Regions from separate parts of the Homo sapiens genome. Here all the other regions are linked to region 7. The links are contacts of gene promoters, found by promoter capture Hi-C in blood cells and fetal thymus (Javierre and others, 2016). All regions are on one chromosome and are shown on one strand. The core of a region is centred on a gene start or on the middle of the fragment in contact, and the rest is flanking DNA. Distances in the headings are between cores, read along the strand shown. Region 1 has its middle 88 kb from the start of LINC02038. Region 2 has its middle 98 kb from the start of OPA1-AS1. Region 3 overlaps OPA1 (OPA1 mitochondrial dynamin like GTPase). Region 4 overlaps OPA1 (OPA1 mitochondrial dynamin like GTPase). Region 5 has its middle 79 kb from the start of OPA1-AS1. Region 6 overlaps OPA1 (OPA1 mitochondrial dynamin like GTPase). Region 7 holds the start of CPN2 (carboxypeptidase N subunit 2).

Region 1 (3,643 bases), core at 90-2,589, 600 kb after region 7:
CTGACATAGTAACTGGTACATAACTTGCCTTCACTTAAAACAACTACAAATGGGGAAAAACACATGAGGCAAATGTTTTCAGACACGGAGCAATAGGCAATAGGGGAATGTGATTTGGGAGACAAGTGAACTATATGACGTGAGTTCCATGGTCACCCCAGTTTTTTTCCCAAGGAAATTCTCCTGCTGCAATAAAAAGAGCTAAGGAGGCAGAGATTGAAGCTTTGGGATATAGACATGGCTGAAATTTGTGGGGTGGGATATCAGAAAAGAAGATACTGCACAGAAAATCAGGCCACTGAAGTCTGCATGGGGATGGACTGTGGGTCTGTGGCTGAGAACTCAGCTGCCCATACACAAGGCCTAGCAAGGGTCACATGCTGCAGGACTGGGAGCTGAACAGAGAAACCAGAAGTCCTGCTTTGCTGAGAGACGTTGGACTTCTGTCCCAAGCAGAACATTTTGAAGATTCAGTTGAGATTCTAAAAAGGTTATGCCTTGAGATGAAGAACCATGCTGTATAGTAAGGGCCAGCTCTAAACCTAAGCTCAATACAAAAATAGATCCCTTCAACAATGCAGGGATTAGAGGGGAAATGGAATAAAAAAAAATACGCCCACTTTCACAAAGAAAAAGAAACAACTCTAACAGGACCAAAATTATATTCCAAACACTTAACTGCCTTCAAGAACAAAATTCAATGTCCTTTAAAAGAAGGTGACAAAATCTGGACTCCCTATATTATCCATGTCAGAGAACAAACAATAAAAAATTATCAGACATGAAGATATAGGAAAATGTGACCCAGTTAAATTCAAGAAAAAAAAAATCAATCAATAGAAATAGACCCTGAGATGCTCCAGGTGTTAGAATTAACAGACCAGACTTCAAATGTAAAAGTTATTAACACATTCAGTGATTTAAATAAAAATATAGGAAATCTCAGCAGAGAAATGGAAACAATAAAAAAGAACCAAACAGAATTACCAAAACCGCAAAGAAAAATGTGTAGAATTAAAAATTCTACTAGATGAGCTTAATAGCAGATTGCAGACTACATGAGAATGGGTTAATGAACTTGAAAATAGGCCTTTTGAGATTGTTCAACTTGAAACAGTTTAAAGAGATAAAAAAGATTAAACAGATTCTCCATGATGTGTAGGGAAATACCAGGCAGTCTGACATATGTGAAATTAAGGTGTCAGAGGGGAAGAGATGAGAAATGGAACAGAAAAAAAATATTTAAAGAAGTGATGGCTAGAAAATTTCCCAGAGTTAGTGAAAACCATTAAAATACCAATCAAAAATGCTCAGTAAACACATTGAATCACAAATACACATGGTATACACATAAATACACATAGATCTACATTCAGGCATGGGATGGTCAAACTTGAAAATGAACAATACAGAGAAAAAATTTAAAAGTAGCTAGAGGACAAAAGCAGATTACATACAAGGCAAACAATGATATGAATGACAGCTGAACTCTTCAGAAACAATGAAGGCCCGGAATCAATAAAATGGATTTTAAAGTACAGAAGGAAAACAACAATGAGAAAATAATACTCTCTCAGCTCTGAAGTCTACATCTAGCAAAAATATCAAAACTAAAGGCAAAATAACAACATTCACCAAACAAAATCTGAGCAAACTTATCAGCAGAAATGTGCTATGAAAAATATTAAAGAAAGTACTTTATGCAGGAGGATAAAAGTAAAAGATAGAAACTCAGATCTAAGCAAAGAAATTTAAAATGTCATAAATAACAATTATGTAAATAAATATAAAGGGATTTATTTACTTTTGTTTAATTTACTTAAAAGATCATTGGCTGTTGAAACAATATTGTGGAGTTTATAATATTTAACAAAATAGAATGTATATCAACTAAGTGCAAAGAATGGAAGAAGAAAAATGCAGGTGTATTGCTATAAAGTTTTTACATAATACATAAGGTAGTAAAATACAAGTTGAAAGTAGACTGTGAGAAATTAAACATATTTATTGTAAACCCTAGAGAAATTACTAAAAAAAAAAAACAAACATGTATAGTGAATTCGAAATCCAGTAGGGCAGTCATTGAATCTTAAAGTTCCAAAATGATCTCCTTTGACTTCATGTCTCACAACCAAGTCATGCTGATGCAAGAAGGAGACTCCCATGGCCTTGAGCAGCTCTGCCCCTGTGGCTTTGCAGGATCCAGGCCCCCTCATGACTGCTTTCATGGGCTGGCATTGAGTGCAGCTTTTCCAAGCACATGGTGCAAGCTGTTGGTGGATCTACCATTCTGGGGTCTGGAGGACAGTGGCCCTCTTCTCACAGCTCCACTAGGCAGTGTCCCAGTGGGGACTCTGTGCCAGGGCTCCAACCCCACTTTCCCTTCCACACTTCCCTAGCAGAGGTTCTCCATGAGGGCCCCTGCAGCAGACATCTGCCTGGACATCCAAGCTTTTCCACATATCCTTTGAAATCAAGAAGAGGTTCCCAAACTTCAATTCTTGACTTCTGTGCACCCACAGGCTCAACACCATGTGGAAGCTACCAAGGCTTGGGGCTTGCATACTCTGAAGCAAGGGCTTGAGCTGTGCCTTGGCCCCTTTTAGCCATAGGTGAGGCTGAAGCAGCTGGGACACAGGGCAGCAAGTCCCTAGGCTGCACACAGCAGTGATGTCCTGGGCCAGGCTCATGAAACCATTTTTCCCTCTTAGGCCTCTGAGCCTGTGATGAGAGGGGCTGCCATGAAGTTATCTGACATGCCCTGGAGATATTTTCCTCATTGTCTTGGTGATTAATGTAAAGCTGCTCATTACTTGTGGCAAATTTCTGCAGCCAGCTTGAATTACTCCCCAGAAAATGGATTTTCTTTTCTATCTCATCATCAGGCTGCAAATTTTCCAAACTTTTGTGCCCTGCTTCCTATTTAATGTTTTTTTTCTTTTTTCTTTTTTTTTGGTGAGAATGATGTCTTTATGATATTGAGTATTTTTATCCTGGAGCATGGTATAGCTCTGCATATTTATTTAGGTTTTCTTTAGTATCTGTTAATAAACTTTTACAATTTTCTCCCTAAAGAATTGGCACCTCATTTGTTGGATTAATGTTTTGTTGTTTAGATATTTCTTCCGCCAGATGCCCCAAATTATGTCTCTCAAGTTCAAAGTTCCACAGATCTCTAGGGCAGGGGCAAAATACTGCCAGTCTCTTTGCTAAAGCATAGCAAGAGTCACCTTTGCTCTAGTTCCTAAGAAGTTCCTCATCTCCACCTGAGACCAGCTTAGCCTAGACTTCATTGTCCAGATCACTATCAGCATTTTGGTCAAAGCCATTCAACAAGTCTCCAGGAAGTTCCAAACTTTTCCACAGTTTCCTCTCTTCTTCTGAGTCCTCCAAACTGTTCCAACCTCTGCCTGTTACCCAGTTCCAAAAACACTTCCACATTTTTGGGTATCCTTATAGCAGCGTCCCACTGCTTTGGTACCAATTTATTGTAATTAGTCCATTCTCATGCTGCTATGAAGAAATATCTGAGACTGGGTAATTTGTAAAGAAAAGAGGTTTAATGGACTCACAGTTCTGCATGGATGGGGAAGCCTAAGGACACTTACAGTCGTGGCGGAAGACACCTCTTCACAGGGCAGCA
Region 2 (3,152 bases), core at 602-3,101, 630 kb after region 7:
CACCATGCCAGCCACTTCTTAGGCCGAGTCACCATGCTCAAAGAGCACTGCCTACAGCCCTCACCTCGTGGGGCCAACATCAGCCACACCCACCCAGGGACGAGATGGGAGATCTAGACCCAGTCGAATTGCCTCACTCAGAAGCTGGCTTTTTCTGCCTGATGCAGCTAATGACCCCTCTTTGTCTAGAGTGCCAGACTGTTTTGTGACCACACACATCAAGTTTAGTAGGGAAAGTAAGGGTGGAGATGGGGTAAAACGTTACTGAGCATTAAGCTAATATCAGGTGCAGTGGGAAGCACTTTAATAATAATTTTTGTTAAGCACATACTATGTCCTAAGCATGCTATTAAGCATTATATAAATATTATTTTGTTCTGTGTTCATAATAATCTTCCAAGGAAGATAGGAATATTATCATCTTCATTTTACAGACGAGACTGCTGAGATTCAGAGGGATTGAGTGACTTGTCTAAGCTTATATAGAATATAAGTGGTGACGCTGGGACTTAAATATGGGAATTGAATCTATATCTGTACAACATAGATGCCCAAATTTTCATATTTTTTTCTTTACGGAAGTATAACTGATGTACAACGTACTATACATATTTAAAGCATACAATTAATAAGTTCCCGCATCTGTGAAACTATCATCACAAACAAGACAATGAACATATCTGTCGCCCCCAAATTTGTCTCGTGTCCCCGTAATACCTTCATCCTGTATTCAGGCAACCACGGATCTACTATCGCCATTTATCAGCTTGCACTTCCTACAATGTATGGTTCCTAGAACCATATAGTATGTACTCTTTTAAAAAAAAATGTGGCTTCTTTTACTTAGCATAATCATTTTGAGATTCACCCATGTTGTTACATGTCTCAGTGGTCCACTTTCTTTTTCTTTTTCTTTTTCTTTTAAAGACAGGTTGTCACTTTGTCACCCAGGCTGAAGTGCAGTGGTGTGATCTTGGTTCACTGCAGCCTCAGCCTCCCAGGGTCAAGTGATCATCCCACCTCAGCCTCCCCAGTAGCTGAGACTACAGGCCTGCACCACCACATCTGGCTAATTTCTTTTTTTGTATTTTTTTGTAGAGATAGTGTTTTGCCATATTGCCCAGGCTGGTCTCGAACTCCTGAGCTCAAGCCATCTGCCCACCTCCGCCTCCCAAAGTGCTGGGATTATAGGCGTGAGCCACCGCACCTGGCTGGTCCATTTCGTTTGATAGCCAAATAGTGTTCCACTGTATGAATATACCAGTTTGTTTATCTGTTTCTCTCTTGCTAGACATTTGGGATATGTCTAGTTTTTAGCTGTTACAAACAAAGCTGCTGCGCACATTTGTGTACACATCTTTGTATAAAACACATGCTTTCATTTCTCTTGGGTAGACAGGAATGAAATGGCTGGATCATATGATAGTTTTGTATTCGATGTTTTAGGAAACTTCCAATTGTGTTCCAAAGTGGTTATACCATCTCACATTTCCACCAAGAGTGTATGAAGATTCCTGTTACTCCATATCTTTGTCAACACTTGGTATGGTCGGTCTTTTAGTCCTAATAGGTGTGTAGTGGCATGTCATCTTTTCAGGTGCTTGCTTGTTATTGTAGATCTCCTTTAGCAAAACGTCTATTCAAATCTATCGCCTACATTTTTTGTTTTGTTTTGTTTCTGTGCTTGTAAATTGTGCTTTAGTTTCTGCAATCAGATAGAATGCAGTGAGATACAAGCATAAAGCTTCACTGTGCATCCAGAAAATAAAAAGCACACATATGCAGATTGAGCTGAACGGCTTATTCCCTTAATAAGAAAATAAAAAGCACACATATGCAGATTGAACTGAACGGTTTATTCCCTTAATAAGAAAATAAAAAGCACACATATGCAGATTGAGCTGAACGGCTTATTCCCTTAATAAGAAAATAAAAAGTTTTGAATTTAAAAAAGCTTGTTAATCTTCAGTGTAAAAACTTGGAGGTATAAACAGTTTCAGTTCATTATACATGGTAAATTAATATACAATTCTCAAGTTGTACAGCATAGCATTGTAAGCAAAGTAAATCGTCTCATTTCAGTTTTTACTCTTAAGCATAATCCACACCTCAACCTTAGATAAAAATTTCACAATATATAAAGCCACTGAGAATTCTGTATACAAATGCAGGTTATAGAAATCTGATTTCAAATACAACTACAAAAATTGTCACGACCTTACATGTTACAACAGCTTACTTATTTTTCAATTATAATTTTTAAAAATTATAGAAAAGAATTTCACTGTAATCCCAGCACTTCAGGAGACCGAGGCAGAAGGACTGGTTGAGCCCAGGAGTTTGAGACCAGCCTGGACAACACAGTGAGACCCTGTCTACACAAAACTGTTACAACAACAATAAAAAAAATTAGCCAGGCGTGGTGGCAAGCACCTATGGTCCCAGATACTCAGGAGGCTGAGGAGGGAGGATCGCTTGAGTTCAGGAGTTTGAGGCTGCAGTGAGCTATGATGGTATCACTGCACACCATCCTGGATGACAGAGTAAGAACTTGTCTAAGAAATTAAAAAAAACCATCTCAATGCACATTCAATGGCTGTGACAAGGGCCATGATCTTGTGCCTTTAAATCATACTTTCTGGAGTATAAAGCATCACCCGTGTGTTTTAAATTGGGTTGTTTGATTTCTTATGATTGAGTTTTGAGAGTTCTTTATATATTCTGAATACAAGTTCTTTATCAGACACAGGATTTGCATATATTTTCTCCCATTCCGTGTGTTGCCTATGAATTCTCTTAGAAGTATCCTTTGAAAGACAGAAGTTTGATTTTGATGATATCCATTTTATCATTTGTGCTATTATGGATGGTGCTTTAGTTGTTGTATCTAAGAAATGTTTGTTTAACCCAAGGATGCAGAGTTTTTTTCCTGTTTCTTTTTTTTTTTAGTTTTATCATTATAGTTTTAACATTTAGCTCTATACTTCATTTCACATTAACTTATAATATATGTATATAACTATGTATGTATACATATGTGAACTGATGTGTATGGTGTGATAGTGAATCAAAGTTCATTGAGCGTATAGATGTCCAATTGCTTCAGCACCATTTGTTGAAAAACTACCCTTTCTCCACTAAATTGCCCTTGA
Region 3 (3,150 bases), core at 587-3,086, 690 kb after region 7:
TTCTTTTCCAATAAATATAAAATGCATAGCTTGATTTTTAAAAAGCTTTTTCATAAAAAATGGTACTTCAGACTGCTCCTGTGAGGTATCTGTCCTTCTTAAATTCACTTCCAGTCTCTTATCTGTAATTATTCATAATCTCTTTACCAAAGGAGGAAAACTTACCTACACTAGTTATGTTTGATAACAAGATTCTTATACTGTGTTAAATTAATCTTGTCATTTTTCAAACCTCCACTCAAAATTGTATATGATAGAAGAAACTAGCTTTAAATTCAATCATTACCCTAAATAAATTACTAGAATAGAAAATCTACCACAGCTACGAAACTGAGTGTTTTTTTTTGCCCCAAACTCTATCACAGCTATGAAATCTGAGTAGACAAGATTAACACATAAATGCAAACAATTAACTTGTAAATGGAACTACTAATTAATACTCTCTGAAAACTAATACTTCAGAAAAAAGAGCATTTGATAAAGAGAAAGTTCACTGTTTGCTTAAACATGTACTATTCAGTCTGAGATGGAAAGGAAATCGCTGGTAATGGTGTTCCCAAGCTCATCCTGCCTCATGTTTTACTTCCCCCTTTCTACCCATCATTTGACTGTCACCACACTTGGCCATTAGAAGAGAGAACTACTCTTGGATCTATCCTGACCAAAATTTCCATTAGTTTGGCTTAAACAAGGCGAGAATGTTTCAAAGGGATGAATTTTCCTAGAAAACAAAAGAAACACAAAAGCACAAAATACTTTTCAGAGAATGGATTTCTCATCTTTAAGTTTCTTTTCCTGCCAAATCCTGTCATTCAGCTAAGTGAACTTACGATGTGAGACCTAGGGATATTCTCAACCTCTTCTAGAATCCATGTCTCACTGTAACCTCCAGGTATGAGGTTGAAAACACTTGTCTTCAACTGGGAGTGGGAGGGATAGAAAGGATAGAGAAGGAGAGCTTGACTCAATGAGTCTGACATGAGGCTAGCTTTTGAAGAAAAAACAAAACACTATATATAAACACCTCCCCGGGTGATTCAGATGCCCCTCCCTTCTATATTCCAAATTATGGCCTCTGTTCTACAGTCAGCCTGGGTCTCACACATGCTGCCCTGAAATCCTGTGGGGAGAAGGCTCTTCTGTAAAGGGTTTCCAGATTCCTCTTCTAGGCTTACAGACCCTTTGCACTGACTTTAAAGCAAATTCCTTTCTTTCTCTTGAAGGGATTCCCCTATGGGTTTAAGTTCCTGACAAAAATAACTTACGAGCAGGAATCACTTCTTTCAGAGAGTGTTTGGCCAAAGCACATTTACCACCAGTCAGTTGCTGAGGCAAGTTCTGCCACCAACTGTTCTAGAGACTTTAGGCCTAATATCACTAAGTCTTGAAGGCCAGATACCATTTTTCTTTTGCAGTTTATCTCCCTTACAGCAGCTCTTTCTAATCAATGCATCTTCCTCTATCAAAGTCAGAAACCTTGGATGGATCTCTAGAAATTCTCTTCTGACAGACCTCCTTCTCTCGGCCCATCTGTAGAGCAGAGATAACCAACGCACCCTGAACACATGCATGACCCAATCACTAACTGTCTGCTTCCTCAGCTTTGCTTCAGTCTCTTAATGGCTCATTTTTCACAAAAGTCATTACCAAAAAAAAAAATAGTAAAGAAACACAGAGAAAAAGAAGACTGTCTCTTCATTATTTTGAGGAAAGTTGAGACTCACATCTGATAGAGAACTTATGAAACAAGAAATGTGGGAAACTAGGAAAAAAATAGGATATAGATTATACAATTAACTGTATTTAAAATGAAAATGAAAATATAAAATAAAGAAATAGGGACATCTCATTTGGTCAATTTTTATTCCCTTTGTCTCCTCTATTTTTCCATTACTTGATCTCCTTTCTCTAAATGAATTCAAGGAACAAAGCAAACAAGAAAAGAAAATGGATTGGATGCTAAATCTTTTTCATCTTCATTATTTCATTAATTTATGTAGTTAGATTCTATATTCTATTTAGATTCTTTCATTTAAGGAATGAACAAGGAATGAGACAGTGGTATAAGACTGAATGCTAGATAGGAAAAGAAGCTATAAGAATCGGAAAGGAATGAACAGGGGTGGAGGTGAGGGGTAGGGACTTTAATGGTAGATATAGATAAGATAATAAAATAAGGCAAGAAAAATTGTATCTTTTCCCGCCAATCATATTCATTGTACATCCTCTGAAAACCTTACTATTTTTTTCTATTCACAAGTTATTTTCCCTGCAGCTTCGATCTCCCAGGCTCAAGCAATCCTTCCCACCTCAGCCTCACTAGTAGCTGGGATAACAGGTATGCGCCACCACACCTGGCTAATTTTTTTTGACTTTTAGTAAAGAGGAGGTCTTGCTATGTTGCCCAGGCTGGTCTCGAACTCCTTAACTCAAGCGATTCCTCTGACTTGGCCTCCCAAAGGGTTGTGATTACAGGAATGAGACACCGTGCCTGGCCTGTTCATAACTTTAATCTTCCTTTTTACCTCAAACAGGGAATTGAAATGAACAATGTAATCAACCACAAAAGGGGCATGTTTCATCTCTTGTCTTTTAACAACATGGCTACTTCACTTAAAAAAAACTTTCTTATGTAGTTTATTCTTTATTCTAAAGATTCATTATATTTTAGAAAGTATGATATAAAACATTTAATATTCCTGAGACTGGTCTAGAGCCACAAAAAGGTTATATTTTAATGCCTGAATTAAAATGAACAAAATTATATCATCATAAGACTAGAGACTTGTTTATTTCTACCTGTTCTTGGGTCCGATTCTTCCAGTATAACCACCTCTTTTTCCAGTCTGGACCCACCATGTTTTCAATTGCATTTTCAGCTAGAAAAAAAAATTAATTAATCAAGAATTTTATCACTTACACACACACAAATTATAACTAATAATGGTCTTGCTTTCTTAACTATTTCAAAGTGCTATATCAATATGAAGGCAGTTGAAATAAAGGAAAAAACCCACATGACTGATATGGCACATGTGTAAGAGTTTAATTATATATGTGTTTAAGATACCTAAAAGTATAATTGCTTATAAAATTCCTATAAGTACAGTAGCGAACACACTAAAATATTCTGCATTATAGCTTTATAGA
Region 4 (3,548 bases), core at 526-3,025, 670 kb after region 7:
GGGCAATGACAACGAGCTGTGGGTATAAGAAGCCAACCTGAGACCTCTTCACGAAAAATGTGTTCCAGAAATTATGTCCCTAGGACCACATTCAAAAGTGTCTTAAACTACAGTGCAATCTCTGGGTGGTGGCAATTATTTTTTAAAATTTTGCCATCTATAGTTTCTAATTTCCCACAATGCATATACACTAGCTCTCTCATAATGAAAAGGATGTTAAAAAAAAAAACCCTCAAATTCCAGTAGTGTACTTTGGTAAAGATCAGTCTAAAGACAGATCTGTATATATGACACAGTCTATGAAGCAGTGCCAACAAAAGGAGAGACTAAAGATAAAATGGCTTTAATTCTTGGCCCAGAAAAGAGATCTAACTGAAGTTAATCAAAACAGCAAACTTCTACTGCTCAGAATATTGAAACTAGAGAATAGATGAATGAGCTGTTCTAAGAGAAATTGAAATGAAATATTCTGTACACAGGAGGTAACAATGAAACAATCTTAAATGGGTGATACAAGTGTGGAAACTGTGAGTTCAACAAAGATTTTGATTTATTTTCAGATGATAGATCCATGATGCATAGTTACAGGATATGAGAATTCACTGTGAATCCCCCAACCACTGAGGATGGTATCACGATGAGCAACGACCATGCAGTCCCATGAAATGTCCCTCAGCATCACAACCAGCAGTAGGTTACTTGGGAAAATATCTGTTACTTTTAAGATAGAGCACATCGTGTATTAGCTTCGTCATTTCCATGAATAGGATAATTAAGACTACAACATTTCAAAGTAATTCTGAATCGTGCTCACTGGGGGAGAAGGGCTGTGGGAGACACAGTTTAGAAATGTACAAAATAGTGCAAAATTAAAATTCTCTTCACATTTAACTAATTTCTCCAACTACCTGGAGAACTGTACTTAACAGAGGTTACCAGTTTCATGTGCATCAATCCACCAATCCCTTAAGATTTCCTATCTCGTTTAATTTTATTTTTTATATACTGTTGCAGAGTCCAATGAATTGTTTTGTGATTAGGTTTTCAATTACTACATTCTACTTTTTCTATCAAATATGCAAAAACATAATTTAAAAATAAAAACGCTTAAGATAAAGTTTATTCCCAACTTTAAAGGTATTAGATCACTTGAGCCCAGGAGTTCAAGGCTGCAGTGAGCCATGATCACACCACTGCACTCTAGCCTGGGCAGCAAGTGACACTCTTTCTAAAGAAAAAAAAAAAAAAAAAAGAAGTAAAAGAAAAAAAAATTGTGCACTGGCCTTTTGAATACATTAAGAGTATTTTCACAATAGTATATAAGTAAAACCTACATTAAAATGATAAATGGCAAATTCAATCCATACATTATTGTAGAGAACATTCTTGTCTTTATTCTTAATCAGTTAAAACTTGAGTTTAAAGCAAAAGAATATACTTGCTAGTAAAGTGTTGATTACCAGCAGCATGTATAATATTATAGAAAAGAAAATGTTCTTTTACGCTTGTACTAATTTATTGATATTCTTCAACAGTGACTTTTTTTTTTTTTTTTTTTTTTTTTGAGACGAGTCTTGCTCTGTCACCCAGGCTGGAGTGCAGTGGCGCGATCTCGGCTCACCGCAAGCTCCGCCTCCCAGGTTCACGCCATTCTCCTGCCTCAGCCTCCCCAGCAGCTGGGACTACAGGCGCCCGCCACCACGCCTGGCTAAATTTTTTGTATTTTTAGTAGAGACGGGGTTTCACTGTGTTAGCCAGGATGGTCTGGATCTCCTGACCTTGTGATCCGCCCACCTTGGCCTCCTAAAGTGCTGGGATTACAGGCGTGAGCCACCACACCCGGCCACAACGGTGACTTTTAAAGACAGACTTAGGCCATGAAAAATGTACTTCATTCTAAAAGACCCATTTTGAGTCTCGATTTTCTCATCAATAACCTGGAAACCACACCACTCAGGCGTTGTCATGTGGAATTCTGTGTGTAAATAACCACTTCTCTAACAGAGAGGACTTTCCTTGAGGATTACTTTATCTTTGTATCAACTCAGGTTTTTTTGTTTGTTTGTTCTGTTCCAACACAAAGCAGAGCCTACTTCATCTATACAGACTCAAGGTAAAAATAATTCTTCACTATCTTTCCTAGTTGCTTTAATGTGTTAACTGCCTTACTATAAAAAAAATTATTTTACAAAGCCCAGATTTTTAAAATTGCCAGATTTACCATGAAAAGATGCCTTAAAGAGTTCAAGTATTGCTACCATAAAACAAATACATTATTTATTCTGTAGTGAAGAGGAAAAAAAAATCAATTTTTCTGTCTCTCAAACATACACATTTCTACATCATATAATCATTCCAAAAAGTACTTGAATGTATTCCAATGAACTTAAAAATTCCTAATAAACATAAAAAGTTATTAAAGTTTCCTGGTGAACTGGGTAGACTGGCATTAGGAAATCATTGGTGATCTATCAATAAGTGGTTTTGATATAGATGAAAGCCAGACTGCACGATATTAGGAAGGGAGTGGGCAGAACAGGAGTGAATGCCACACAGGCAAGCTGCTCTACAAGAGAAATGAGCAGTAACTTTCTGGCAAGACAGAGTAGAAGAAAGTTTCCTTGGGATGAAAAGAGTTAGTTCCCCCCAACTTTTTAAGTCAAGAGAAGGGGGCTAATGAACAGTCTGTATTACAAGATCACAATCGAACATTCAGTAAATGTGTACAGTACAATATGTAACACACGAGGTATGGGGAATTTATGAATGAACCAAATCACTTTGGCAGAAGGGATCGACCGTGATAGACATGAAAATGTTTTTCTTCTTTAAATGGTTATTTTCATTGATTTACAGTTGCCTATAGTGAGAAGCCTCTATTCTGCTCAATTAAACAACACTGGCAGTATCTGAGTAAGGTTTTTAGTCACTGAAGGAAGGTAAATAAGCAGGTGGGATAAAAATACTGGGTTAGGTTGAAGTGATGATGATATAGAAGAGACGCAGTGAGAGAAGTGCATAAAAAGAAAGGGAAAAGGTTGCCTCGAGATGTGTTAAAAGCCAGGAGAGAGGAAATGGTGTTGTGAGCCCAAGAAACAGAGCAACAGTACTGAGATATGAAAGATGCTGCCGGGATGCTTCGAGCTCACACGTTCTCTTCGGGACACCCTGCTCTATTCTTCTTGATTGGGTGTTTTTTTTTTTTTTTTTTTTTTTCTTAAAAAAAAAAAATCTCCTCTGAACCTACATACCTAGAATTCTACAACTTGGTATCACCCTCTCTTCCTTTAAAATTCATTTTCTTTGGTTAAGTCTACAGAAACAAAAAGAACACACCAGTGCAGATGCCTTTAAAGTCCCTTTAAAGTTCATTTTCTTTGGTTAAGTCTACAGAAACAAAAAGAACACACCAGTGCAGATGCAGTTCAAATTGCTCACCAAATTTTCCAAAGTGACGTTGTGTCTCAGACTCTACAAATGAATGTATGTCAATTTTATCCCAATTAATAGCATGAAAAATTGTCTTGCTATGCACTGAAAGAACTCTT
Region 5 (3,497 bases), core at 153-2,652, 640 kb after region 7:
AGGACAGTGCCAATCCATACCATGGCTTTAAGCAGAAGAATAACAATCATCTAGGATCTGGCTATAATACAGAGGCTAAGCCAGAGGAAAGCAAGAGAGCAAATGAGTCAGGAGGCCCTGCAGATTATGACTAGGGCCAAGATGGTGACAGTGTGGACGGAAAGGCATGGATGGATTTGAGATGCTTGGGTGTCTAATTAATAGGCCATGGTGGAGATTTGATGTGGACATGGGGTTGGGGGAAGAGTCAAGGGTGACCCCTAGTTTTTGGTTTGAGCAAAAAGGTAAATGATGTAAATGATATTCCCATTTAGTGAAACAGAGCAGAGTGAAGTGAGTACAGGTGGGCAAGAATTATAATGACTTTAGCTATAAGGTATCTTTGAAAAGTACAAGTGATAATGTTGAATAGGCATCGGGAAGCACTGGCGATTAAATGAGAGTTGAGGCTATGGGAGTGGATAAAATCTAGGAAGAGAATATCGGTTGGAAGAGCACCAGAACAGAGCACTGAGGAGGAAGAACAGCCAGGAAGGTAGGAGGAAGAACAGCCAGGAAGGTAGGAGGAAAATCAGAAGTGTGTGCTGTAATGGAAGCCAAGAGAAGCAAGTACTTCAAAGATGAAGTGGTCAACGCTACAGAATATAGTAATGGGTGAAGTGAGATATGGCCTGAAAACTATCCGATGAATGTAATGACATGGACACCACCATGTCCTTAGGGAGAACAGGTCCGGTGGAGTCGTACAGCTGATTTGGACATGCAACCAATATACCAGGTATCACTGCCATTTGCTGGCCTGGCTTCTGGCACTTGCCATTGACATAAAATATATCCCGATTTCAGGTAAAGAAGCCAACAGGTAATTTTCATGGATGGTGCAGAGCTTCAGATATTTTAAACAAAGGGTCTGATCCTATAGCTAAGCCTCATAGTACAAAGCAGTGATTGACAAATGTTTAATGTCTTGAGAATTATTGAGTACCCCAGGAGTTTTTGTGTAGGTTATGTCTGTTGATATTTATTATATTAGAAATTAGAACTGGCTGGGTGCAGTGGCTCATGCCTGTAACCCCAGCACTTTGGGAGGCAGGGGCGGGTGGATCACTTGAGGTCAGGAGTTCGGGAACAGCCTGGCCAACATGGTGAAACCCCATCTCTACTAAAAATACAAAAGTTAGCCGGGTGTGGTGGCATGCGCCTGTAGTCCCAGCTACTGGGGAGGCTGAGGCAGGAGAATCACTTGAACCTGGGAGGTGGAGATTGCAGTGAGCCAAGATCATGCCCCTGCACTCCAGCCTGGGTGGGTGACAAGAGTGAAACTCTGTCTCAAAAAAAAAAAAAAAAGAAAAAAAAAGAAAAAGAAAAAAGAAATTATAACTGAGAAATATTACTCAATTTATTTAAAAAATAAAACAATTACATGTTAACATAAATAACATTTCTGATGAAAAACAAATATAGCAACAAGAGTAGTACCATCTTTCATTTTTGCAATTCTTTTTAATGTCTGGCTTGATAGCAGATAACCGGATTATCTTACCTGCTTCTGCATTCAATCTATTGTGATATGCTGTTTTGGCTGACACAGATATAGAAAACCTGGCCTCACACAGTTACGGAATTGAAAAAGAGAAGAATGTAAGAGCCATTTCAGGTAATTGTGAGTCTTCTCTGATACTGCACCCACACTTAAAAAAGGTTAGTTGTAATGTGGCATCCGAAACCATATCAATGAACTTCTCCATATTCTGTGACCTAAACTCCTCTGGTCCAGCTCCCATTTTGTAGGCATCTTTACCCATGCCTGATTTGTTACCACAACGCATTAACCATTCGAGAAATACCAGTTCCCACGGTTATGCAGATCCTCCAACTGTTGACACTTCGCACTTTACAATATCCAAAAATCACATCCACTAATATCATTATCTCATCAGAAATACATACACTGAAAAGCTGTCAAGCTCAATGACAAGCTCAATATAAGTTTTTCAAAATGTTCATTTTTGCTTAGATGTGTAATTTGTATCATTGGCAATAAATGCACAGAAGTGGTTTTCCTTGAAGTGGCTGGCTCACTCCGCTTAGTTTGAGAAAATGGCTGCCAGGTGACCAAGTCTGACTTATGTAGTTTGTCAGTGATTCTTTTAAGCAAAATGGTGTTCCTTGAAAAAAAAGTGGTAATTTACGTCACCAATTAAACAATTATACAAGTACTTTTCCTCAAGATCACCAATATCCTTTATATGCACATGTTTTCTGTGTACCAGGCTTCTGTGTTTTTTTTGGAAAAAAGGGGAGTGCACGGCAGTGAAGATGACATAGTGCCTGTTAGGACCGGCAGTGCCGTTGCCTTGATTCATGCCGAGGCTCCAGTGTGGTGTGCTGTGGTTTTTCTACAACCAGTGAATGTCAGCACAGTGAAAAGGGCAAATATTAGTATTATTATCAAAATCATGGTGACCTTGTGGACCATGGAAATAATCTTCAGGACCCCCAGGGACCCAAAGACCACACTCTACCAACTGCTGGTGCAGAGTAAGCACTGGCATCTAAGAAGGCAATTTCCTCATGGAGAAACTCTCCAGATGCCAAAAAAGGCAAAGATTTTCCCCTGGAAGTGTTTTATATCTTTAGTAAAGCTCTGTAATAAATACTTCAGAAGTTTAGTGCCAGAATCAAACTATTTAATTAAATGTTTAAAATAATACAATAATCAGTTCGATTTATTCCATCACAACGAATATCTTATTTACCTTGTGGACATATTTTAAAGATTAAATGAGATAAAAAAGCTCTATGCCAATTAAGGGCAGTTTTATATAAAACAGAATTAAAGTTTTCACAAATGTCAGCATTAGAAGAACGCTGAATGAACATCCAACCAAACCCTCTTATTTTATCAATGGAGAAATAAAGCTACCTGGAGACAGATTTTCATCAAATGATCATGTTCCCATTTTAGATATTTCATTCTGGCAGGAGTGTGGGGGATGAACAGGAGATGAAAATGAAGGCCCATGGCAACAACAAAGGTGAGACATGGGGGGCCACCTGATCTGTGCAGACAGGATGGGAAAGAGTGGAGGGGTACAAATATATTAAACTGGTGGGTCGGGCGTGGTGACTTACGCTTGTAATCCCAGTGCTCTGGGAGGCCGAGGTGGGTGGATAGCCTGAGATCAGGAGTTCGAGACCAGCCTGGCCAACGTGGTGAAACCCTGTCTCTACTAAAAATACCAAAAAAAAAAAAAAAAAAAAAAATTAGCTGGGCGTAGTGGTGCACACCTGTAGTCCCAGCTACTCCGGACACTAAGGCAGGAGAATCGCTTGAACCTGGGAGGCGGAGGTTGCAGTGAGCTGAGATCGTGCCACTGCACTCCAGCCTGGGCAACTGAGTGAGACTCTGTCTCAAAAAAAAAAAAAAGTGGTGATTGGATTTGTTGGTTGCACTGGGGAGAGGGTCCCAGGTTTTTGTCTTGTGCAACTAGGTA
Region 6 (2,500 bases), core at 1-2,500, 720 kb after region 7:
ACTTATAATATGCCTTTTATAATAAAAAATATTCCTTACAATTTTTTTAGCTTATTGGAATCTTTCAAGAACAAAGTAATTAACAGGAAATCATGGTTCTATCCTTACAGCAAGTCCAACTCAAGCCAAATTAAAAGAACGCATACATAATTGAACACCTACATAGTATGAGACAGGCAGAACTACTGGCTAGACTCTACTATAAACATATTTTTACATAAACTCACTCATTTATATCTAGTAATAGTATATTTAACAAAATTCTGGTAGTATCTAAGGATTAGATCTGTGTTGTTTAACACGGCAGCTACTAGCCACATGTAGTTATCAAGCACCTGAAATGTGGCTGGCCTGAAGTGAGGTTGTGCTGTAAGTGTAAAATACCTCATTCATATTTTTTATACTGATCACATGTTGAAATGATACTATCTGGGATAGACTGGGTTAAATATATTATTAAAACTAATTCCACGTTTCTTTTTACCCCTTTTTAATGTAAAAATTAAAAATTACACAGGTGGCTTGTATATTTCTATTGGACATCATTGATATAGATAACCCAGTGAATTCTCCATAATACAGTCTATCAGTGCCTAGTGACTGACAATTACAATTGCACAAATTGAAGGGTTTGTATCAAGGCATATAAGAGGGTAGAATTTCCACTGGCTCATTTCTTTGTAAACACAAAATCAATTTTGGGGTCTACATTTTCTGGGGATGGAAACATTTTGGTACAGATGCCAATTTGTAGCCATCCTGAAGAGATGTGCTATTGAGCTGTCTCTCAAAGCTCTAGAACAATAATTCTCAAACTTTAGAATGCATCAGAATTATCTTGAGGGCATTTAAAAACAGATTGCTGAGTTTCATCCCAGAGTTTCTGATTCTTCAGAAGGTATGGGATGGGGTCAAGAATGTGCATTTCTAATGTGCTCCAGAGGCTATGCTTTGTGACCAATGACTCTTACCCCTGGTTGCAGATTGGAATCACCTGGCTAGGAACCCTTAAAAACATAGATATAGTGCCACTCAGAGCACAGGTGAGTCTAGCGTATAGTGAGGTTTGAGACTCAATAAATAGATACCAAAGAAACCTGTGACTCAAAACATACTACTGACTGATTATCCCTAATTCAAAAATCTGAAATCCAAAACACGCTGGCCCCAAGCACCTCAGATAAGAGATATTCAACTTGTAGTCGTTTCACTTTTTCACAAAAAAGAGATCCAAGATTAACTCTTTTTCTTATTCTTTTTTGTTTTCTTCCAGACAGGGTCTTGCTCTATTGGCCAGGGAGCAATCATGGCTTACAGTAGCCTTGACCTCCTGGGGCTCAAGTGATCCTCCCGCCTTAGCCTCCCAGTTGCTGGGACTACAGGCACAACCACCACACCTGGCTAATTTTTAAAAAAATTTTTATAGATACGGGGTTTCTCCGGGTTGCCCAAGCTGGTCTCAAACTCCTGGGCTCAAGCGATCCTCCTGCCTCAGCCTCTCAAAGTGCTGGGATTACAGGCATGACCCACCATGCCCAGCTGATAGTAACTCTTTGAACTTTAAAAAATAAGTTAATTAATGCATGTCAGTGTCACCTATATAGAAAAACTGATGATTGAGTAATAGGGTAACTTTTTTTTCTTTTTGAGATGGAGTCTTGCTCTGTCGCCCAGGCTGGAGTGCAGTGGCGCCATCTGGGCTCACTGCAAGCTCCGCCTCCTGGGTTCACACCATTCTCCTGCCTCAGCCTCCTGAGTAGCTGGGACTACAGGCGCCTGCCACCACGCCCAGCTAATTTTTTGTATTTTTAGTAGAGAAGGGGTTTCACTGTGTTAGCCAGGATGGTCTCGATCTCCTGACCTTGTGATCCGCCCACTTCGGCCTCCCAAAGTGTTGGGATTACAGGCGTGAGCCACCGTGCCTGGCTGTGATAGGGTAATTTTGTACTAGAATGTTACCCACTCATTACATTGCACAAAATAGGTCCTTAAAGTAATAATTTTATCACCAACTATAAGAAAATAGCTTTTCTAAGTAGTGCCAGAAAGAGCTTTAGATAAGCATTGTCTGACTGCTTTCAGACTTGCGAAGCAAAGTAAAGGTTCCTGAGAGCCCACTAGAACGATGTGGTAGACTCAACTCGAATTTCTTTAACTGTATTAGCTTATCAATGTAAAAATGCAAGCATAAGTTTATATAAGGACAAGCCACTTTCTCCCTTTTGGGCATAAGATTCACTCAAAATAGGTTTTTACATATAAATGAGTTAACTCCATACTTATCTAGTTCTGTCTTTATTCCTTATTTCTCAATTAGCTTTTGCATCTATCGATAATAATAAGGTTCTATCATTACACCTTCCAAATTTTGCTCTGTTGAAAAAATAAATGTCCATATCACCAAAGTTACATTCGAATATAATTTTTAAAAGTCCCTAGTTTTTCTTAGTCATCATGATTACCTGAGTGTGCAGAAGTTCTTCCTGAAGTTGGTCAATTT
Region 7 (3,690 bases), core at 1,140-3,639:
GTGCTGGGATTACAGGCGTGAGCCACCTCGCTTGGCTGATCCTTGGAATTTTTAATGCAAGTCCCCTTCCACAGATGTTTCACCCTACACACACACTCTCTCTCTCTGTCTCCTACCTCCCCAGGCCTTCTGCCACACCCATTCCACAGACGAGAATGCAGAGACTTGTAGAGATTAAATCACTTGTCTAAGGACTGACTAGTTAGTTGAAGAGTCAGAATTCAAACCTAGATCTGTCCAATGCCAAATTTCTCTTGTTCACCAGGCCACGTTGACCAATGAACAAACGGTGTTGCTGGAGGCGAGTGTGGATGGCTTGAGAACCTTGAGTACAGGGCAGTGCCAGGCTCTTCCCAGAACTGCTTGTGAGTGCCCCCACGCAAGCCATTTTTCCCAGCCACTGTCCCACCCTTGCCAGCCCGGGGGCCGCTGAGGGGGAGCTGGGCACACTGTTCACCGCCTGTCTCCATCCCAGAGGCTCCCGCTGTCCTCTGCCAGAGTGCATTTGTGGCATATCGCCACTGAAACACACTTCCTTGCCACACTCCATTAGACCTTTGCAGTTTGGCTGATGCAATCAGCTCACGTGCAAAAGAAACATTAATTTGTACTCATAAAAAGCGTAGATAAAAATCAATACCATGCAATGAGTGAAAAAGCCATCAGTCTACTTTAAATGGTAGACTCCTGGCATTGAAACGATCTTAGACTGCTCGTCCAGGTCACCCCTTCACCCTGCTCGCCTCCACACACCCACTCCTACGCTCTCACCACACACCCACATACATCCTCACACTCACACTCACTCAGTGCACACTCACACATACCCACTCACCACACACCACACACACACATACCCCAACACACTCACACCTACTGCACACACGCACACCCACCCATTCACCACACACACCACACACCCACACACTGCACACACACACCCACTCACCACACACATACACCCACACACCCACTCACTGCACACTCACACCCACTTACCACACATTTTCTCACACACTCTCATTCTACACACACGAGACATACTCATGCATATACACACCCACTTATACCACACACACCCCTACACCCACTTACACACACCCACTCACACATACACCCACTTACACACACTGCACACCTACACACACGCACTCACCACACACACCCCTACACCCATTCACACATATACCCACTCACACCCCCCACACCCACACGCACGCACTCACCAAACACTCCCCTACACCCACTTACATACCCATTCACACATACACCCACTTACACACGCACTCACCACACACACCGCTACACCCATTCACACATATACCCATTTACACACACACACCCCACACCCACACGCATGCACTCACCAAACACTCCCCTACACCCACTTACACACGCACTCACCACACACACCTTTACACCCACTCACACATACACCCACTTACACACACATCACACATGTGCTCTCACCACACACACTCCTACACTCACATACACACGCCCACTCACATATACACCCTCTTTACATACCACACCCCCACACACGCACTCACCACACACACCCCTACACCCACTCACACATACACCCACACACGCACCCACACACGCACTCACCACACACACACCCTACCCACGCGCGCACACACCCACTCACACATACACCCACTTACACACACAACACACCCCCACACATGCACTCACCACACACCCCCTACAGCCACTCACATTTACACCCACTTACATGCACACCCCCAGATGCACGCACTCAGCACACACACACTCCGTGTGTCTTGCAGCCCTGGTTCCACACCTCCGGAGATGGGAAAATCCCTCCCTTCCAAAGCAGCATCTTTCGTCCTCGGCCAGCCCTGAGTGTGTGAGCGCTCCTCTCCATATTGGGCCCCAATTCATCTCCCTATAGCTTTTCCCCCTTCTAATTCAGGAAGGGTTTAGAAAGTTCATTCATTAAACAAGCAAACAAACACAACAAGACAAAACAACAAATCCACAGCCCTCTTGAAATGCCTCCGGGCGCTGAGAGCCCAGCAGGGGCCTGAGGCTGAAGGCAGGCTCCCAGTCCCTCTGCCTCTGCTCACAGGTATGGGTGTGAGCGTGGACCCCATCCCAGGCCTCACCAACCCAGCCGCCTGCGGGAATCTCTAGAGCTTTCTGAGTGTCCTCGGGGTCCTGAAGGTGCCAACCCTGCAACCTCGGTGGGATTTTGGCCCCGGCAGGGCTCTGTACATGGGAGGAGTTCAGGGTCATTTTGTAATCTTCAGAGGCCTTGCCAAGGCCCTCTCCCGTCCTGTGACCCTGGTGACATTCTGGGACGCTGGGGCCACGTGAGGGGAGGAACCACTGCCTGGAACTTTGATCAGCGCTGGGGCTGGATTGAGCTGACCACAGGCCACACCAGACTCCTCTCTGCTCCTGAGGAAGACAGGGCAGCCCGGCGCCACCCGCTCGGCCCTCACGGTAGGCTCCCGGGGTCGCTGAAGGGCTCCAGGGTCTGCAGGGACGTGGGGGCAGGAACGGGAACTTGCGATCTCCCCCGTTTCAGAGCATTCCGCAGCTCCAGGCAGGCTGCGGTTCTGGGGGGCCCCTGCCCCGGGAGGAGAAGTCCCTGAGGTGCTCAGCTAGGGCGCTGCTGGGAAGAGGCAGGAGGAAGGTGGGGCGGGGGTTTGTGAGATGAAGATCTGCCAGTCCTGGCCTACAAGGCTGGTAGTGAGTAGAGGATAAGCAGGGTGACCAGATGTCCAGGTTGGCCTGGTTCTGCCTAGTTTATACTTGTCATCTTGGCATAATAATAATAAATAGTATTACTAATTACTTATTAATCCTATATTAATACTAAATATTATTAATTATTTATTAATATAATTATTGTTTTTTGAGATGGGGGTCTTGTTATGTTGCTCAGGCTGGTCTTGAACTCCTGGCTTCAAGCGATCCTCCCACTCAGCCTGCTGAGTAGCTGGGATTACAAGCGCATGCCACAGCACCCAGCTCAGGCCCAAGGATGACTAGCTCCTGGTTTCCTTCCCAGAAGCGTGCTGGCTCATATAATAAAGTTTGTGGTGAAATAAACCTGCAGGGGGCCACCTTTTATTGAACATTCAGTATGTGCCAGGCGCTGTGTTAAGGGCTTTCTATTTACTATCTTATTTAGCCTATTTATCATCCAATGGAGTGCTAATTTGAACTCTGAGGGCAGAGGTGATAATTAAGTCTGGAAAACCTGAGGCTTAGAGAGTTGGAGTGATTTGCACAAGCCCACACCGCTAGTAGGTGATGGCGTCAGAATCTGATCCCAGCTGGGGGCACTGGCGGAGCTAAAGTGCTTTCCCCTGCTACTAAGCAGGATGAGAGTAAGGCCTGAGATGCGAAGTCACTGAAAGCCACAAACACATTCCTTCAATTCAGCACACAGGGCCTGACTGCCTTCTCAGTGCCTGGCCCCGAGCCAGGTGCTGGGGTGCAGAGCTGCTTGCAGAGACACCACAGCAAGACTGCAGTACCACGGGCTCAGTCGGGTGGGTGCAACTGACTAGAAAACAGAGCGGAAGAGCCCAAACATTCAACACAGTACAAGAGGGATCCGAGGACCCAAGAAAGGGCCGAGCGCGGTGGCTCACGCCTGTAATCCCAGCACTTTGGGAGGCCGAGGCAGGCGGATCACCTGAGGTCAGG

What was found. The method cuts DNA at HindIII sites, captures the fragments that hold promoters and counts their contacts. A CHiCAGO score of 5 or more calls a contact.
Region 1: a contact is called between a fragment that was not itself captured here and the fragment with the promoter of CPN2 in region 7, in 1 of 17 cell types (M2 macrophages). The highest score is 5.4, in M2 macrophages.
Region 2: a fragment that was not itself captured here is called in contact with the fragment with the promoter of CPN2 in region 7 in 3 of 17 cell types (M1 macrophages, total B cells and naive B cells); the score reaches 9.6 in M1 macrophages.
Region 3: a contact is called between a fragment that was not itself captured here and the fragment with the promoter of CPN2 in region 7, in 3 of 17 cell types (naive B cells, naive CD4 T cells and endothelial precursors). The highest score is 12.5, in naive B cells.
Region 4: a contact is called between a fragment that was not itself captured here and the fragment with the promoter of CPN2 in region 7, in 4 of 17 cell types (total B cells, naive B cells, naive CD4 T cells and 1 more). The highest score is 8.4, in total B cells.
Region 5: a contact is called between a fragment that was not itself captured here and the fragment with the promoter of CPN2 in region 7, in 1 of 17 cell types (naive B cells). The highest score is 5.4, in naive B cells.
Region 6: a fragment that was not itself captured here is called in contact with the fragment with the promoter of CPN2 in region 7 in 1 of 17 cell types (total B cells); the score reaches 5.2 in total B cells.

The regions. Positions count from the first base shown.
Region 1 is chr3:193,753,960-193,757,602 of GRCh38, reverse strand. No RefSeq gene overlaps it. Among named protein-coding and RNA genes, the nearest start is that of LINC02038, 88 kb to the left of the region's middle. The HindIII fragment of the contact is 2,229 bases long and covers 225-2,453 here.
Region 2 is chr3:193,724,155-193,727,306 of GRCh38, reverse strand. No RefSeq gene overlaps it. Among named protein-coding and RNA genes, the nearest start is that of OPA1-AS1, 98 kb to the right of the region's middle. The HindIII fragment of the contact is 210 bases long and covers 1,747-1,956 here.
Region 3 is chr3:193,659,211-193,662,360 of GRCh38, reverse strand. OPA1 (OPA1 mitochondrial dynamin like GTPase) reads right to left here. Exons shown (of 31, transcript NM_130837.3): 25 at 2,800-2,879. All of the region lies in intron 4 of LOC102724808 (a long non-coding RNA gene), which reads left to right. Among named protein-coding and RNA genes, the nearest start is that of OPA1-AS1, 33 kb to the right of the region's middle. The HindIII fragment of the contact is 3,578 bases long and covers 48-3,150 here.
Region 4 is chr3:193,674,996-193,678,543 of GRCh38, reverse strand. The region is part of intron 29 of OPA1 (OPA1 mitochondrial dynamin like GTPase); the gene reads right to left. LOC102724808 (a long non-coding RNA gene) reads left to right here. Exons shown (of 5, transcript XR_924835.3): 2 at 561-690. Among named protein-coding and RNA genes, the nearest start is that of OPA1-AS1, 49 kb to the right of the region's middle. The HindIII fragment of the contact is 7,050 bases long and covers 1-3,548 here.
Region 5 is chr3:193,704,837-193,708,333 of GRCh38, reverse strand. No RefSeq gene overlaps it. Among named protein-coding and RNA genes, the nearest start is that of OPA1-AS1, 79 kb to the right of the region's middle. The HindIII fragment of the contact is 8,669 bases long and covers 1-3,497 here.
Region 6 is chr3:193,631,628-193,634,127 of GRCh38, reverse strand. It overlaps OPA1 (OPA1 mitochondrial dynamin like GTPase), which reads right to left. Exons shown (of 31, transcript NM_130837.3): 8 at 2,463-2,500. Among named protein-coding and RNA genes, the nearest start is that of OPA1-AS1, 5.5 kb to the right of the region's middle. The HindIII fragment of the contact is 5,274 bases long and covers 1-2,500 here.
Region 7 is chr3:194,350,027-194,353,716 of GRCh38, reverse strand. CPN2 (carboxypeptidase N subunit 2) reads left to right here and starts at 2,389. Exons shown (of 2, transcript NM_001080513.4): 1 at 2,389-2,475. RefSeq lists an enhancer at 2,064-2,913. The HindIII fragment of the contact is 6,903 bases long and covers 1-3,690 here.